Linked DNA regions of Homo sapiens: region 1 is linked to region 2. Evidence: promoter capture Hi-C in human tissues and cell types (Jung and others, 2019). All regions are on one chromosome and are shown on one strand. Each heading gives the region's core, a stretch centred on a gene start or on the middle of the fragment in contact. The rest is flanking DNA. Distances are from core to core; before and after follow the strand shown.

What was found. Contacts are between HindIII fragments. The study calls those that stand out against the background at their distance.
Region 1: a contact is called between a fragment that was not itself captured here and the fragment with the promoter of SBK1 in region 2, in 1 of the 25 tissues and cell types used here (dorsolateral prefrontal cortex).

What each region holds. Positions count from the first base shown.
Region 1 is chr16:27,544,438-27,547,903 of GRCh38, reverse strand. GTF3C1 (general transcription factor IIIC subunit 1) reads left to right here. Exons shown (of 37, transcript NM_001520.4): 2 at 2,381-2,590. Among named protein-coding and RNA genes, the nearest start is that of GTF3C1, 3.7 kb to the left of the region's middle. The HindIII fragment of the contact is 4,315 bases long and covers 1-3,466 here.
Region 2 is chr16:28,290,988-28,294,468 of GRCh38, reverse strand. It overlaps SBK1 (SH3 domain binding kinase 1), which reads right to left and starts at 1,944. Exons shown (of 4, transcript NM_001024401.3): 1 at 1,169-1,944. LOC124903670 (a long non-coding RNA gene) reads left to right here and starts at 2,404. Exons shown (of 2, transcript XR_007065033.1): 1 at 2,404-2,702. RefSeq lists silencers at 1,844-2,073, 2,281-2,452. The HindIII fragment of the contact is 7,957 bases long and covers 1-3,481 here.

The DNA.
Region 1 (3,466 bases), core at 557-3,056, 750 kb after region 2:
CCTGTAATCCCAGCACTTTGAGAGGCAGAGGTGGGCGGATAACTTGAGGTCAGGAGTTCAAGACCAGTCCAGCCAACATGGTGAAACCCCATGTCTACTAAAAATACAAAAATTAGCTGGGCGTGGTGGTAGACGCCTGAAATCCCAGCTAGGTGGAGGCTGCAGTGAGCCGAGATTGTGCCACTGCACTCCAGCCTGGGTGACAGAGGGAGAATCCATCTCAAAAAAAAAGCTTATCCTTTATCAAAAGGACAGTGAGAAGTCACTGAAGAGAGGGTCAGACTAGGGGCAAAGAGTGAAGTTGAGAGATTTTTAGTAATCTAGTCATGGTCTGGCTTACCATGGTGGGCGTGGGGATGAAGAGCACAGGCAGTCAAGACATAGTAGGCTGCTGTTTGGGCACCTGAGCGAACCCTGATTCTCATCTCTGAGGCTGGGAACACGGAAGAACAGCGTGGGGGTTGAGTCTGGGGGAGGTGGGGACTTTGCTGAAGAGACATGTGACACATTTAGCTTCAGGTTCTTTTGAGTTGTCCAAGTGAAGAGTCTTAATTAGTAAACATCTGGCTTCGTGGGAGTGAAAGCAGGCCAGAGGGAGGGACTGAGCTAGACATCTGTGAGTCATTCCTAGCAGCTGGTAATTAAAGCAGCTGGCTAAGATCAGCCCTAAGAGAGAGTGTAGTGTGGTTGGAGGTCTTGAGATATAGCTCTGCAGTGCACCTACATTTCAAGGCTGGATGGAGGGTGAGGGACTTTCAAAAGAAGACTGAGGCGGTGTGGCTGGAGAGGTAGAGGACAGTCAGGTCAGAGTGGTGTTCTGGAAGTTTGGGAGGAGACAGGATCATTTAAGAACGGAGGGTTGGGCTGGGTGTGGTGAATCATGCCTGTAATCCCAGCACTTTGGGAGGCCGAGGCAGGTGGATCATTTGGCCAACATCGTGAAACCCTCTCTCTACTAAAAATACAAAAATTAGCTGGGTGTGGTGGCAGGTGCCTGTGATCCCAGCTACTAGGGAGGCTGAGGCAGGAGAATCGCTTGAACCCAGAAGGTAGAGGTTGCAGTGAGCCGAGATTGCGCCACTGCACTCCAGCCTGGGTGACAAGATCAAAACTCAAGTCTTAAAAAAAAGGAATGGAGGGTTAAATGGTGCAGATAACACAGAGGGGGCAAGGAAGGAAAGGGCTGAAACATGTACATAGGATTTAGCCGCAATTAGACTAGTGTAGGATATGAGTGAGATTTCAAAATAAAACTCGACAAGCAGCCAGGCAAGGTGGCTCACACCTGTAATCCTAGCACTTTGCAAGGCTGAAGTGGGCAGATTACTTGAGCCCGGTAGTTCAAGACCAATCTGGGCAACATAGTGAGGGGAAAAAAAATTATATATATATATATGTATGTATTTTTTTTTTTTTTCAAAAAAAAAAAAACTTGACAAGCTTGGCTAACTGCATGAAAGAAGCACAAATGAAAAATGTCTCCATGGTGTTGTAAGAGGCACATGGAAGAAAGCGGTAGTAAGAGGGGAAAGAAGGGACTTAATTGGAGCTGGGGAGAGGTAATCATATTTGGAATGGGAGGCATTTAATAGACAAGTGAAGACATTGGATCTGTATTTGGAGAAAAAGGACTGAGGATTCAAAGGTGAGACTTGTTAACATGCAGGCGGTAATGCAAACCATGAAAATGGGTTAGGATATTAGAGAGATAACTAAGGAGAGATGGAAAGATGAGATCTTAAAGGGAGGAAAGCTTTGGCCACTTGTGGTGGCTCCCACCTGTAATCTCAGCACTTTGGGAAGCTGAGGCGGGTGGATCACCGAGGTCAGGAGTTCGAGACCACCCTGACCAACATGGTGAACCGTCATCTCTACTAAAAATACAAAATTAGCCGGGCGTGGTGGCACACCCCTATAATCCCAGCTCCTTGGGAGGCTCAGGCAGGAGAATTGCTTGAACCTGGGAAGTGGAGGTTGCAGTGAGCCAAGATCATGCCATTGGACTCTAGCCTGGGCAACAAGAGCAAAACTCCATCTCAAAAAAGCGGAGGAAAGCCTTGAATCATTTCGTCCAACTTGGTGGTTTGGAGACTGAGTACCAGATTTGGAGGGAAACAAAAGCCCATGACTTGGCCAATAAGGAGGTTTAGGTCCCAGCACCCAGCTTCTGGAATAGTCTGGGGAGTCCTGGAAAGGTCTGCGTTCTGTGGGATAGAAAGGCAGGAACCTGCTTGTCAAGATTATCTGCATTTATAAGGCAGGAAAACTGACTGATCTCACTTCTCTCTGATCTCTGCTGGAGGTTGTCAAAAGAACACAGCCAAGCACACATTATATCTGAAGCTGAGTTGGGCTTTGATATTTGTGTTTTTCTCCTTAGGTATGAAGAAATTGATTTGGAAACTGGAATTTTGGAGTCTAGGAGGGACCCGGTGGCTTTGGAGGATGTCTACCCCATTCATATGATCTTAGAGAATAAGGATGGCATCCAGGGCTCATGCCGCTACTTTAAGGAGAGGAAAAACATTACCAATGACATCAGAACCAAGTCCTTGCAGCCTCGCTGTACAATGGTGGAAGCCTTTGACAGGTAACTATTTTGCACCATCAGAAATTCCTGGGAATCTGGCCGGGTACGGTGGCTCACGCCTGTAATCCCAGCACTTTAAGAGGCCGAGGCAGGTGGATCACTTGAGGCCAGGAGTTCAAGACCAGCCTGGCCAACATGGCAAAACGCTGTTTCTACTAAAAATACAAAAATTAGCCGGGTGTGGTGGCACATGCCCATAATCCCAGCTACTGTAGTGGCTGAGGCATGAGAATCACTTGAACCCAGAAAGCAGAGGCAGGCTGCAGTGAGCCGAGGTCATGCCACTGCACTTCAGCCTAGGCAACAGAGTCAGACCCTGTCTACAAAAAAAAAAAAAAAGGAAAAAAGAAATTCCTGGGAATCTGAGTGCTTTGAATGTGTAGTCAGAGCACTTGGATCTGGCCCACAACCTTGGAGTCTGTCAGAGTTCACTAGCCCTGCACTACGCCAGTTCTTGGCCTTCATTCGCCTTCTTCACTGGGGTCACGGGTCCTGCCTTTCTCTTTCCTTTGTGCTCACAGTCCTTGAGCACTTGAATGGTGCCCTTTCTCTCTTCCTACCTGGGCCCTGTGCTGCCAAGCCATTCTCTTGTGAATCCTCAGTCAGTATCCCAATTCCCCAGAGTGTCTAATCCAAATGATCATTTTTTTTCAAGCACCTAACTCCATTCCTGCCTTCCTTCCTACTTTACAGGGCAATGTGAACTCTGCTAACTTCCACCTTCTTTCTTGACTTGCAGACTTTTCCACATTTCTTCCCTGTCTACTCTCATCTCGGAGGAGGTGAGAAATGGTGGCCCTGTCTAAGGCTGTGATCTGGATGCATCCCTTCCTCCTCCTCCCCTCCCCCAGCCCAGCTCCCTCTACCCCTGCTCTT
Region 2 (3,481 bases), core at 695-3,194:
TGTTGAATGAATAAGTGAAGGAGCTACTGGCAGGGCTAGCTGTATCCTGGGTCCTGCCTTCCCGAGCCTCAGTTTGTGCACCTATCAAATGGGTCCAGCATCACTGCTTGTCTGCAGAAGGCTCAGAGAGAAGAGATGAGAGGAACTCCCAGCAGCCCAGAGTGTGTTCTTTCCATGCAGTCCAGCCCCTTCTCAGGATCTGATTCAGGATTTCAGGGTACAATGTCCCCTAGGGTCTCTCGGCTTCCTCATATGCGGTAGAGCCTGGGGTTCAGGACCTCACTGAGGGCCAGGCTGGGGTACGGCCGTGTGTACCACCTGGAAAGCCACAGTGAGACCCTGGAATTGGCCCTTGGTTGTCTGGGACACATTGAGCCAACCCTTGGTTTAACCTGGGTGTTCTCCAGGTTAGGAGGGGAAGGGAAAGACTTGGGTTGCTGTCCCTGGGACAAATGGGAACAGAACGGTGCCCTGACCTGAAATAGCTTCTTCATCTAGGCTACCTCTCCTCCCCAGAAACTAGCGCCTCACTTTGGGGGGTACTTACTCCCTCCCTGTCCCACAGGGAGTACAAAGTATGGTTTAGGTAAAGACCGCCAGTGTGGCCTGGGTCGGGCAGCAGAGTCACAGGGAAGATGCGATTCCCATTCATCCGCTCAAACACACCCCTTCCCCGCACTCTCACAGACAAAGACACACACCCGAAGCCCCAGCCATCACCCAGGGCCACATAAGGCAGCCCCCCTCACCTGTGGGCACCCCCAAATTTTCCCCTCTCGGGGGGACTTCACTAGAAGCTCAGCTTGGCCGTGGGGGAGGGGTATTCACACTCCAAGGACCTGGGGGCCAACCTCCAGGCTCGCAGCTTTTGGGGGGGGACTCTCCGCCCTCTTCCCCCCTCTCCATGGCACAACGGGCTCCACCACCACTCCTCCGTGGGGCCGGGGAGCTGCGCCCGAGCCTCAAGGCTAGGGAGTGGGGTGGGGGAAGGGAGAGGAGGAGGGGGCGGCTCCTCCAAGCGAGACACAAAGAGACGTCCTTCAGCCTCGGCTCCATGGCGACGCTGGGGAAGGGGGAGCGCGCAACCCGATACTTCCTTCCCCACCTGCAGGGCTATGGGGACCTCGGTGGCCACTCACCTGCCGCCCCTCACCTGGGCCCGGCTTACCTGGGCTGGGGCCGCGGGGACGCCGCGGCAGGGGGCCTGGGCGCCGTCGCGGTCTTCGTCTGCCCGGCCCCGGGGGCTCAGGGCGCCACGACCATGGACCGGGGTGCAAGCGGTGCCGCCAGGGGCTCAGTCGCCCAAGTCCTGGAGCTTTAGGGGGGGGATCCCCGAGGCTTCTTGCTGGTGAGAGTGTCTCTTGCTGTCCCCGGCTGCCTAGATTTGGGATTTCTATGTACCGGAGTTGGGGGGAATTGGGATCCCCTGATCTAGGGGCGTTCTGAGCTGGGTCTTCTTGTCTTGAGGTGTGGAGTTGTAATGACCGGATCTTGGGAGGGGGTTCTCGCAATCCCGGCCTGGGGGCACTGCGTTCTAGGTCTTGGGGCGGGGGCCCAGACTGAGGAGGGGGAGTCCTTGCGGTGCCGTAGGGGGCTTGCTGTCTTCTAAATACCGAGGAAGTCTCCGCTTTCCCCGCAGGGGAGTCGCTCGGTGTCGGATCCGGGAGGGCCCCCCCTCTTCCCCGAGGCTCGCCGGATCCTGGATGTGGAAGGGGGCTCCCCGCACTCCTCGGCTGCGGGGGCTTTAGTGGGTCCCGGCCACCGGCGGGCGCTGGAAGCCCCTCAGCCGCTGGGGGGCTCGGTCGCCGCCGCTACGAGCAGCCCGGCCCTGCGCTCCCGGCCCCCGGCCTGGCCCGGGCTCCGGCTGCGGCTCCAGCTCGCGCTCCGCCTGGCGCTCGGGCCCCGGCCCCGGCGCCCGCCCGGGCTGCGCTCCATCGCGGCATCGCGGCTCCGCCCTCCAGCCAGCGCGCACCTGCCCGCCCGGCCCGCGGCTCCGCCCTCCGGCTCGCGCGCCGCCGCCCGCCCCTTTGTCCGTCCCGCTCGGCGCGCGCCCTCGCGCAAGCGCGCTCACCCGCCGCGCGCCCGCCCTCCCGCCGCGCGCCGCGGAGCGCAGATTCTCCCCGCGCGGCGCCCCCACCCCCTTCCGGCCGCGCTGGGTCCTAGCGCCGGTGGCTCCCGAGCTGGCTCCCACCCCCCACCCCCCACCCACCCCACTCCTTTTCTAGGTCAGAGCCCACGAGGGGGCGAGAACGAGGTTACAGAGGACTCGGGGGAGTCTGAGAGGGTCACCTGGTCCAGCTTTCTGGGCCCTGCGGGACGAGACTGCCCCAGACTGTCCCGGTCTGTGCTAGTGGGGCGGAGCCTGTGTGTGTTTGAAGGAGGGAAAACAAATCCAGGTTCTGCATTCGGATATGCATTTCATTCATCCATGCGTCCGCCTGCCTGCCTGCGCTTCCATCCATCCATCCATCCGTCCGTCCATCCATCCATCCATCCATCCATGCATCCTATTTCCAGCGAGACGTCAGAGAACTCACAGTCTTCTTGGGGAAGAGGTCATAAACTTGGGCCTGGGTGGTTGCCCTATCCAACTGAGGTCGCCTTTGCGATCCCTGCTGCAAATAGGCAGTGACTAGTCCAGGAGTGCAGCTGGGAGGAACTGCTCGCCGGATAGAAGGGAAGAAAGGAGATTCTAGGCAGAGGTACAGCAGGTGTAAGGGATGTTGCATTGTCTGTTTGATAACCGGAAATTGGTGGCCTGGATGAAGTGGGTGGATGGGGACAGAGATGAGATAGGGACAGCTCGTCCTTCCAGGCCCTGTTCTTTCTCCTCCCTGCAGCTCACTCTTTCCCTAGTGAGAAAGCCCCAATAGGACGCCTTCCCTATTTCTTTCTTTTTTTTTTGTTTTTTTAGCTTCAAGCTTCAAAAGCATTTCTTTTTCATTCTTTTTTTTAATTATTATTATACTTTAAGTTTTAGGGTACATATGCACAACATGCAGGTTTGTTACGTATGTATACGTGTGCCATGTTGGTGTGCTGCACCCATTAACTCGTCATTTAGCATTAGGTATATCTCCTAATGCTATCCCTCCCCCTTCCCCCCACCCCACAACAGTCCCTGGTGTGTGATGTTCCCCTTCCTGTGTCCATGTGTTCTCTTTGTTCAATTCCCACCTATGAGTGAGAACATGCGGTGTTTGGTTTTTTGTCCTTGCGATAGTTTGCTGAGAATGATGGTTTCCAGCTTCATCCATGTCCCTACAAAGGACATGAACTCATCATTTTTTATGACTGCCCCTATTTCTTCTAAGTTTTTGATCAGGCTGTTTTCTCAACCCAGCGTAATCCTCCCAGCCACTCCCGACTGTTTCCAGAGCTTTAGGAGCCAGGGATTGCAAACGCAAGTACCTACAGGCGCAGACATGAGCGACTGGGGTCGCATGTAAAGTGATAGAGAGGGTGGAGAAGAGGGGAACTG